Regions from separate parts of the Homo sapiens genome. Here regions 1 and 2 are each linked to region 3. The links are contacts of gene promoters, found by promoter capture Hi-C in blood cells and fetal thymus (Javierre and others, 2016). All regions are on one chromosome and are shown on one strand. Each heading gives the region's core, a stretch centred on a gene start or on the middle of the fragment in contact. The rest is flanking DNA. Distances are from core to core; before and after follow the strand shown. Region 1 overlaps CD48 (CD48 molecule). Region 2 has its middle 4.6 kb from the start of IGSF8. Region 3 holds the start of NHLH1 (nescient helix-loop-helix 1).

What was found. Contacts are between HindIII fragments. The CHiCAGO score rates a contact against its expected background, and 5 or more counts as called.
Region 1: a contact is called between a fragment that was not itself captured here and the fragment with the promoter of NHLH1 in region 3, in 1 of 17 cell types (naive B cells). The highest score is 5.5, in naive B cells.
Region 2: a fragment that was not itself captured here is called in contact with the fragment with the promoter of NHLH1 in region 3 in 7 of 17 cell types (erythroblasts, M0 macrophages, naive CD4 T cells and 4 more); the score reaches 6.8 in erythroblasts.

What each region holds. Positions count from the first base shown.
Region 1 is chr1:160,678,161-160,681,606 of GRCh38, forward strand. It overlaps CD48 (CD48 molecule), which reads right to left. Exons shown (of 4, transcript NM_001778.4): 3 at 3,042-3,308; 4 at 586-971. The coding sequence ends at 892. Among named protein-coding and RNA genes, the nearest start is that of CD48, 32 kb to the right of the region's middle. RefSeq lists an enhancer at 3,274-3,363. The HindIII fragment of the contact is 1,066 bases long and covers 1,455-2,520 here.
Region 2 is chr1:160,101,562-160,104,936 of GRCh38, forward strand. No RefSeq gene overlaps it. Among named protein-coding and RNA genes, the nearest start is that of IGSF8, 4.6 kb to the left of the region's middle. The HindIII fragment of the contact is 5,335 bases long and covers 1-3,375 here.
Region 3 is chr1:160,365,163-160,368,660 of GRCh38, forward strand. NHLH1 (nescient helix-loop-helix 1) reads left to right here and starts at 1,909. Exons shown (of 2, transcript NM_005598.4): 1 at 1,909-2,175. The HindIII fragment of the contact is 14,453 bases long and covers 1-3,498 here.

The sequences.
Region 1 (3,446 bases), core at 738-3,237, 310 kb after region 3:
AGTGACCCTTTCAGCTCCAGGCACATGAGGAGACTTAGAGGAGGGGACATTAAGCAAAAATCCCAGGTGTTATGTCAGTGGTGGGCCTGGGGGCGCCTACCTGCATATAGTGGACAACTCTGGTGAGAACACTGTGTCGATCTGATGGTTTTTTTGGATCCAGTGAAACGACTAGGAGTTGAAGACTTGCCCACACAGTCAATGGAAAAGAGGAGAGAGAATTCAGCTCCCTATGCGAGGCTTGTGGGGCAGGAAGGCTTCTTATGAGATAGAGCTGCATCCTTCCTTCTGCGAGAGCAAGCCTGAACCTATGTTTGCAGCAGACTTAAGGAGAGTGGTCCTCAGAGGGGTCAGAGCAAGGCAAGCCACTGGGAAGGAGGCAAAGGCTTGGCAGGGGAGCTGGAGCCCCAGGAAGCTTAGCATGGATGTTGGAATAAGGGTCAGAAGTAGCACAAATTGGCTCCTCAGCTGTGTTGACACACAGGAGCCGGTGGCTCCAGGCTCTCCCCTCTGTGTCTCCAGATTCCAGTTTCTCCCAGCTGATGGAGCAGGCACTGTCTGACAGATTTGGGACAACTTCAGGAATTCAGTTAATTGACAATTATATCAAATGTTTATTTTAAAAAATAATAAAACATTCACATAATGTTGTCACAATTTTGGGTGGGAAAAAAGCATGTGTATCTCTATATCTCTGTGTACTAGAAAACAACAAAGGGATATAAAATTAAATAATAACCAGTATTTAAAAGTTAACTTGAAAATCCTCGTTGATAATTCAGCAGCATGCTTCTGGTCAGCCTATACAGTCTCTGTCCTGGTGAGGAGCATGATCACCAACAGGCAAGATCTTCTGGCCTTGAAGTTTCGCTTGAGTTAAAAGAGCTCATCTCAGGTAAGTAACAGGCCAAGAATGGTGGGCACCGTGACCACTAGCCAACTTGCAATCCATTCTACTCCAAAGGACCGGGCTGAAAGAGCAAGAAAACCCTATATGCTTAGGTATCTTTATCTTGACTAATGTATTGAGAAGGGGCAAGTGTACTGGACACTGGTGTGGGAGCTCACAGAGCAGGGAAATTAATTTCTTCCCTGAATCCCATCCTATTTGGCTGGGACATTCTTTTCCTCAATCTCCCCAAACATAAAGTATAAAAAATGCAGAAATTCCTTAAATATCACTGGCTTACCTGGGCCCTGTGCTCAAAGGTTACCTCGACATATCTGTGGCCTGGGAAAGCATTGCTCCCCTACTCTGGACATCAACGAGGTAGGGTAGATCTTCAGGTACAGACAGATGACCACATGATACAATGCACAGCTGACTTTAGAGAGAAAAGGACCACTTCCTTTCCTTGTTTCTCTACCCCACTAAGTATCTGCACCAACTAGGAAGAAGAAGGGAAGAGAAAGGAAGACAGAAAAGGAAAGGAAAAGAAAAAGGATGGAAGGAAAGCTTAGATGCTGGGGTGGGGAAGGGCTGAGCTGGAGAAAATAAAAAAAAGGAATGAGTGATACAGTAGGGAAAGGAGTTTGAGGGGGCTTTCTAGGATAATTTCGGTGACTAAAAAGTGACAGATGGGTTTACCCTTCCAAAAAAAATGGATTTATTATTGCTTTTATCCTCTCTTCGGATGAACAGTCACACCCATTTTATAGAGGACAGGGAATGTGCGTCTTCCTTTTTCTGGATCTCAGGATGTGATATTGATATGAGGGTGGTGTTGGAACCACCAGCCAAATTGTGTTCTCATGGTCAGATACCACACTGTCACAGTGGGTCTGTGGTGGCAGAAGAGCAAGGCATATCAGGAGAGGCTGGTAGAGACAGGGCCAATTAGTTAGGAAGAATAAGGAAGAGCATACACAGTCTCCGTAGTCCACATGTGGGAGTAGAGATAAAGAAATCAGTGCAGTTAAGGAGGGTAGACAGAGCCCAGGAAGACCACAAAACAGCAACGTTCTCAGAGGCCAGAATCCCTGATGACTGGGCATGACAGGGGTCACAGGTGAATGTGAGCACCTCAGGTCTGAGTTATTCTAGAAGAATGTGTACGCTAGGGCTCAGGGATCTGACTTCAGGATTGTGGAGGGTATCTGACTCTGGTATTTCCCAGAGTGCTGGAGATATTGATCCAAGTTTATTAAGGGTCCCCAAAACTCTAAGAGACTGCGTCTCATTTAGCTCCCGCTTACTAAGGACTTGTCAGCCACTGTGATAGGCAGTTACGTGTCTTGTCTCATTGAATCCTTAGCACGAGATAGGAACTGTTATTTTGTCCTTTATTTAGGAAGAACATGACTTGGGGAAGCTAAGTAACTTGTTTAGCTAGTAAGTGACAGTCCTAGAAGTGACCCCAGGTATGACTGACTCTAAAACCCATGGCCTTAGCTGTCCCATGCTAGCACCAGTGTAGGCCTGATCTAGAGCCAGGTGTGACACTCATGAGTGGATCCTCCCAGGAGACAGGGGAATCTGGCTTCCTAAGTTCATCTAGGAACATCAGGCTGGGGAGGAGAAGCTTCGCCTGAGGCTCAGGCTCTCACGCCTCCTCGACGGCCTCTCTCAGGCCCGTCTCCTCAGTCCCTCTTTCCCTGGCTGACTTTGGCGGTCTAATGACCTCGGTCCCTCTTTCCTTGGCTGACTTCGGCTGTCTAATGAAGCCCCTCTAGACAGCTGCTCGCCCACTTGCCCTTCCTTCTCCCTGCTCACCCTGATGTTTCAGTCTACTCTATGATGACCCTGGCCTCAGATGTTAGGACTATGCTTTGTTAGAGCGGGAGAGGGAAGAGGAGTATCAGAGATCTCTCCCAAACGTCCTTTGCAGGTGAGAACACTGAGCCCCCACGAAGTTGAGGTAAGCTGGCTGGGAGGTGGTGGTAGAGCTGGTGGCAGAACCCACGTCTCCCAGCTCTCCCAGACACCTTAGGGATTCACCACCACACTGTGCAAGGAGGCTGAATAGGACCCCCAGCCTTTCTTTGTTCAAAACAACTCCAGTTACCCTGTGCCCCCCTCAGCTCCCAGGGATCCTTCTTACCCAGGGTACAGGGTGGACTGAGGCAGACCGTGCCATTCTTGCTGCTCACAGAATTGCTGACTTGGCAAGTATAACACCTGGAGTAATTATGTGGCATAAGGGTGGTTTCAAGCACACTGTTCTGGAGCTCCTTTGGGAAGGGCCTTTTGTCCCCATACCAGGTGTAGTTTACAGACTCGCCAGGTATCACACATGACAGTTTCAGATAACAGTTGTCATCCATGTCTTCTATCTTCTCAATTTTGATGACAGGCTTGGGTACAGGGTCTGAAAGTGAGGAGGATGTTATAAGATGAGACAGTGAGGCATTCATGCTGTGAAGGTTTAGCCAACAAAGAACAAAGGGATCCAGGGAAGGGGCCTGAATGCCCCAGGAGGCAGAGTCATGAAGAAGAAGTTCTACAG
Region 2 (3,375 bases), core at 279-2,778, 260 kb before region 3:
ATGAGGGACCCTGATGCCCGGCTGGGCTGTGTTGTCACTGCCATCACCAGCTTCCCACCTGCCCTCCATGTACTACCCCAGGCATGGGCCTGCATCCGACACCCGTCCTGTTTCACATGAAACAGGTCTCATTTCACCTCAAGATGACATATACACAAGACACCAAGGTGACACTGAGGTGTCATGAGTATTGTTAAAGATAATTGAGACCCACGCTCTGCCCAAAAGCAGTTTATAATCCAGCTGAGATGTGACACACCACAGTCACAACCAAGCAGACAGCTCTCAGAGAGGAGCACGTTCAAAGACAGGACCATTCACATATGCTGACCTGTGTCAGGCACTAAATGTGATCTCATTTATCCTCATGTGCTATTATTATCCCTGTGAGAAAACTGAGGCATAGAAAAGTTAAGAAACTTGTCCAAGGTTAATGCATTAGTTACTGTCCACACAGGGATTCGAAATGGATCGCCTCACTGTGGAGCCTGTGCTTCTAACTCCTGTTATGTTGCTGCTTAAAGACAAACGTCACTAGGGACACAGTTAAATATGGGCTTAGCACACATGAGTATACACCAAGCTGTAGACACAGATACTGCCGTGGGGACAAAGTGACAAATACATCAAATACATAAGCACACATGCTCGTCAGACTGTCAGACATATAGAAATGGCACAAGCATACACATAGGACTCAGCTCTCTCTCTTTTAAATGTGTATCAACCGTAGCTTTGTGGGGAGCTAAGGATCACACACAAGAATGTCCTGTGATTTGTGTGTGTTTATAAAGCATTGGCCCATACTGCCCTGATGAGCTATATTTTCCCACCCTCCCAGAAGGGAAGATTCTCTCTGCTGAGTTGCTGAGAGGCTCAAGCAGAGTCAGAGACAGAAGTAGTGCAGAAACCTACCCTCGCCCTGATAACAAACTCATTCAGAGACACACTGAAACAGAAGTGCACACACAAAGATAAACACAGAGACATTATGCACACCCAAACACCAAACACACTCACAGAACCACAAAGCCATCTCCCCCCCGACACACACACACACATTCGCTTTCCACCCTCTCCCTCCCCTCTTTTCTCCCTGAGCCAGGCATCTGCACCTTCATGGTGAACTGTGTGTGTGTGTGTGTGTGTGTGTGTGTGTGTGTGTGTGTGTGTCTACTCTCTGAACCCTCCTCTTTCCCTGGCTAGGCCCACACTCCTGCCCCCATTCTTGAACCCTATGCCAAGGGGAGCAGCACAGCTGTTCAGGAATAGCAGAGCCGCGATGCCACTGGGGCTTTGGCACGACCTGGCCCTGACTCCTGAGGGGGCCCTGCCAGTTCTGAACCAAGGATTCGTGCCAGCTGCCACCCACGCTCAAATGCCACACATGGATTCCTCAGAGCTGGAATCCCCTCGGTCTCCCTTCTGACCTCCTGACAAGTTCTTTGTTCCCCAGTCCCATCGGGTGGGTGCTGGGAGCCTGGGCTCCGCCCCAGATGCTCACCCATCCCACTTCTCCATTCCCAGTCTGCTAAGAGGGAACTGACAGCTCAGATATATGTCTGGAGGGTAGCGTGGGACTGAAGCAACCCCCACTGTGTGATATTACTTCTTCTCTACCCTGAGCAGCCTAGGGTGGGGTGGGGGTCAGCCAAGGGCAGGAGATGGCAGTGGTTTGGTTAGACAGAGGTTTGTGGGCTGAGTGTTGTAGATGAGCCTCAGGGGGCAGGAGGTGGGTAGCACCAGGTGACTGCCAGTCATTTACGAGTTTGTCTCCACCCAGCTCTGAGTGGGGTGAGAAGGGAACAATTACTAATACCTACAGAGCACCTACTTCATGCTGGGCACCGTTGCACACACTCTGTGCACATTCATTCATTCAGCTTTCACAACAACCCCATGAGGTGAATACTACGAGTATCTCTATTTTACAGCTGGGAGACAGAAGCACAGAAAGCTCATATAATTTACCCGAGGTCACACAGCTAGCAAATGGTAGCACCCAGATGCAAATGCAAGCTACCTGATGCCCAAACTTCAGTTTCCCAAACATTCTTCTTCCCTTCTTCCTCCTGTTTCCCTAGCCTGCCCACATTGATTCATACATACATGTGCATATATTCAGGCACACACATGCATATCTGGTGCCTATGCAACCTTCTGAAATAACTTTTTCCACTACACAGCTCCAGCTTCCAGCACATAGTGAGTGTTCAATAAATATGTGTTGAATGGATGAATGCAGAATTGAAGGCCCAGGGAACAATGAGCGTTGTGTGTGTGGTGGTATGGGGAAAGAGGGAGGGGAAAGGAGGGATTTCACACACACACACACACACACACACAGACACACACATACACAGCCCTCTGCTGTGAATAATGTCAAAGACTCACTTCTAACTCTGGGGTCCCAGCCCTTCACAGCTACCTGGGTGGGAAAAGAGCAATGTAACCAGGCTTTACAGGATTCTCTGAAGTGGAAGAAGTCTCAACTCTCTCTTCCAATCAGAACAGAGGACAGGAGATGCAGAGAGAGCTCTGGAAGAGGACTCGAGGCACACAGCCACCTGGGCCTTCCAGCCAGGCACAGCTCATCCTGTGTTTTCACCTCTCCCTGCCCCATGCCTGCCGCGCTGCAGGCTCTCCCCTGGCTCCCTCGGGACAGTCCCTGCTTCCTCTGCTTGTCCACCTGGACTCTCCAGGAACCCGGCACCCCTTGGTTATTTTGGCTGAAGAGTAGACAATTCTCCTTTTCCCTGTTCCAACTGAAACAAGGGTGGAATTTTTCCAAAGGCTCTCTATTAGGAAAGTGAAGGGAAAACAAAGCCAGAAATAAAGACTCTGAAAAAACAAAGAAACAGATGGAACAGTGGGGGTGACCGAGCTGGCCATGGGAGAGAGCGGGGGCCCAGAGTTTTGATGCTAACGCGACCCACCCCCTTGCTCCCACTGCACCCTGTTCTCAGCTCCTTGGTAGAGTTTCCCACTCTGCATTGTAATTACAGTGCTTGTTTATATCTGCCTCTCCATCCTGGCTGTGAGCTTCTCAAAGCCACTGTTAACTCTTTTTTGCCTTTCCCCAAAGCCTACAGAGTTTCCTGGCAAGGAGTAGAAGCTCAACAGACATTTGCTGTGTGACTGAGGAAGTGAGGACATGCCGAGTGACAAGAGAAGGAATCTGGGCCCTTCCTCTCTTGTGGTCATGTCACCTCCACAGTGGACACTGTTAGTTCCTCTGGAGTCCATCATACACTAGTCACTTCCATCTACAGCTGATAGAAAGTTCCTCCTCTTATTTCAGAACCTGAACCTTCCACCCCTCAGGAAACAACCAGGCTGGCTTCCTAAGCAGCCTAGGAAGGGCTGAGTTCTGTC
Region 3 (3,498 bases), core at 659-3,158:
TTTTCTCTCCCTGAGTCTCGGTATCTTCCCGTGTCTTTCTCGTCGTTTCCCTCCGCTTCCCCTGTCTCTGTTCATCTCCCCTTCTTTCTGTATCTCTCATCTCCCCCATGGCACTCTCTCCTGAGTCTCTTGGTCTCCCAATTTCTTGGATGGGGTGGAGGGCAGGAGAGTGGAGGAGGTAGAATTGTTGTTGCTGGGGGCTCATTAGGTGGAGATTGGTTTTTAATCAGCACCATGGCAATGATGATGCAAGAACTGAGATGCCACCTGATCCCCTGCCCCCCAGCCCCCCTCCTCAAGCCTCCTTTCCCCTCCAGCTCAGCCCATCTGCTGGCGCCTGGGCACCTGTCTGGGCCTGCCCAGGTGGGAGTTGGCACCTCCCAGACTCAGGGATGGGGGCAGGTGGGGGAGCTTGGGGAGGAATTATGGGACCCCCTTAGGGAATGCTTCACCCTGGAGAAAGCCCAGAAAAGGTTGACCAGCAACAGGGAAATGGCAAGTCCCTCCAGCCTGAAGGTGGGATGTGCTCCTACTAAGCTCTAGGCCCACTACACATATTATCTCCCTTAATTTCCATGGCAACCTAAGAAGCAGCTATAATCAACCCCATTTTACAGGAAAAGAGGTCCAGGCTCAAAAGGTTGTTATTTGTCCAAGGTCACACAGCTGACAGAGCCTTTTTCACTGTACCACACTACCTCTGGAGTCCTCTCCAGTCATGGTTCTTTTGAATACTCTCAAAGGTTCAGAGAAGACATCCAACAGCTGAGTGGGGAGAGAACTTCAGACACTGAAACCCTCTATGCACTGTCTCTCTATGCACTCTGGTCCCTGTGCTGCCCCTCCTCAATCCTGCCACTCGGCAACACACACATACACACACACACTCACACTTACATTCACATTCACACACACTTGCATATACATGCTGGAGGCTGCTGAGCTATTGATGGGAGCTTAATCAGTGCCCATTTGCATATAATTTTGTGTCTGGTTTTCTTATTGCTGATTTGATGCCCTCAAAACACACTCAGAGCCTGCCTAGGCTGCCCTGCCCTCCTCTCCCAGTGTCCTTCCAATCCTGGTTCTTCCTGTCTTGGCACTCCTCCACTCCTCTCCTTTTAGCCCTTACCTCTTTCTTCCTAAGAGCCCTCTAATTCCCAGTGGGTCAGGTTGGGCTGGCCAGCCTAGAAAAACTCCTTGTGGGGTCTGTGTCCCAAATTTGATCCTGCTCCTCCCCTTGGTGATGGGTTAGGTAGGAAGATAGCGGGTGGGGTAAGAGGGTATGGGGGTGATTGAGTCCCAGGGTGATGAGGGTAGGGGCCTGAACAGTTGCTACAGGCAGGCTGGCAAGCAGTGGGTACCAGCTTTATGAAGGATAAGAGCTTGAGGGCCAGGACCCTAGGGTCCTCTTCTGCATTTTAGTGCTACCCACTTGCTCTTTTCTCGGTTTCCCTGTTAGTACCTTGAAGAGTCTCCCTCTCAGGAAAAAAGAGACACCAGGAAGGGGCTGTCCAAGTCACGCTGGGACTCCGAATGGGGCCATGGCACTTAACCATAGCTTGCTGGGAGCCTCTGCCCTGCTGCCTCTGGTGTGGGAGACTGAGGGGGTTCATCTGTGGTCCTGCCCTGGCTCTCGCCCCAGCCCCACCCCTTCCCCAGCTCTCCATTTCTTGCTTATGAAATATGCATGGAGAACAGATGTCCCTGCTCCCCCGCTCCCCGCCCCCACCCAGGGCCAGCCCCCGCCCCCAGCTCCCGAGGGGTTCCCAGATCCCTCTGCCAATGGCTGCCTGGCCTGGCTGTTTAATATTGATGAGGGGGGGGTGGGCCTGGGCCAGCCAATGGAGAGCTGGGGGTGTGTGTGTGTATCTCCATATATATACATAGGGCTGGGCCAGCTCAGGTGTGTGTGTCTGAGGGTGTGTGTGTGAGTGTGGCTGGCCCCAGTACCTGGCCAAGCCCACCACTTCCACCTGGGCCCTACACCCCCACAATGTGTACCCCTCTTATCTGCCCTGGAGCCTGTACAGCCATGCCACGCTACCCCTGAGAGTCTAGAAAGCTGGTCACTAACTTTGCAGACGGATGAGCCTTGAGCACCCAGAGGAGACTGGGGCTGTCAACGCTGCCCCTTGTCCTGCCGGCTTGGATCCCCTGACAGGGTCCTTCTAGGTAAAGGGGAAACCATGGGCGGGGAGGGATGGGCGTGTCCCTCCCATTCTCTGGCTCAAGCCCCTTCCTAGAGCCTCCCTCTAGTTCTCTCCCTTGTGCGCTGTGTCTCTCCCTGTCTCCGCGTGTCCCTCTTCTCCACTCCTCCCCTTCGACTCTTTGTGCCTATCTATCCTCAGTTGGGTTAGGGCTGGCAGAAGTGGGGTGGGAAGTCCTGTCCTGCAGGCTTGGAATTGCTGCTCCCCTGATCCTTGGACCCTGGAACTTTGAGACCAGAAGTGGATTTGGGGGTGAGGACTTGATGGGTAAATAGAAGCTGCTGCCGGGACTGGAACTGGGGAGGACAATGGGGCCAGGTGGAGATGAGACTGGGGCCAGATGGGGAGCACGGAGAGGGGAAGGAAGGGCATGGCAAAGTGATGAGGGATGAAGGAACATAGGGACCGGGCAGAGAGAATTAGCCTGTGATAGATGTGATAAATGTGTTGGGAACTCCGCAGCTGAACTCCTGCTCCCAGCCCCAGCATGGGGGGTGGGGAGTTGGGGGCACTAAACATGTACTGGGAGGTGCTGACTTTGGGGCCTCCCACACTATTGCCATCCCCCCATAGTTCATTTGAACCCCAGAATATGGAATGTGTTCTCAATTTCAGCACTAACCACCTTCTGTTTCCTGTTAAGATTGTGTGTGTACTTGTCATCAGATGTGGATGACTTTGCATCCCTCCAGAGCTTCATAGCTGTTTGTTGGCTTGACTTGAACCTATCTTCTGTGTGGTGGGGTGGGGCAAGGCTTGGGAGGATCCTAACCCCTTTGAGAGTATCTATCAGACAGGAAAGCCAGGGCTGGGGAGGAAGGGGAGATAGTGATGGTGCAGGCACCTTGGTGCTTCTGTTTCTAATCATTCTTAGTTGAGCTGATGGTGAGTGGCCCACTGTTCCCCTTTAACACTGCACACAAGCAAAGCCCTTTCCCCAGCTTTTCCCAGGCCATGTTTGTGCTGCCTTGCCCTGATCTCCTCTGGTCCTAGGACAAGCAAACCTTAGCTGAGTCCCATAAGGGTAGCTCCAAAAATCTGTCTGTGTCCTCTGCAGGCCGTGTCTGAACCTTCCTTGGGCTATGGGAGAGTATGGGGGTAGAAGGTTGATTATGTTCCCTTTCCCCAATCTTCCTTGCCCAGCCTCCAAAAGGGCCAGGGAATGGCAAGGGCTGAAAATTTCGAAGACAGAGGTGGAGGAAGAGGCTGGTTGTGCACAGTGGGGTGGTGGTGAGAAGAGATATCTTCCCCTGGTTTTAGTGGACAGGATCTCATATCTACAATGGTT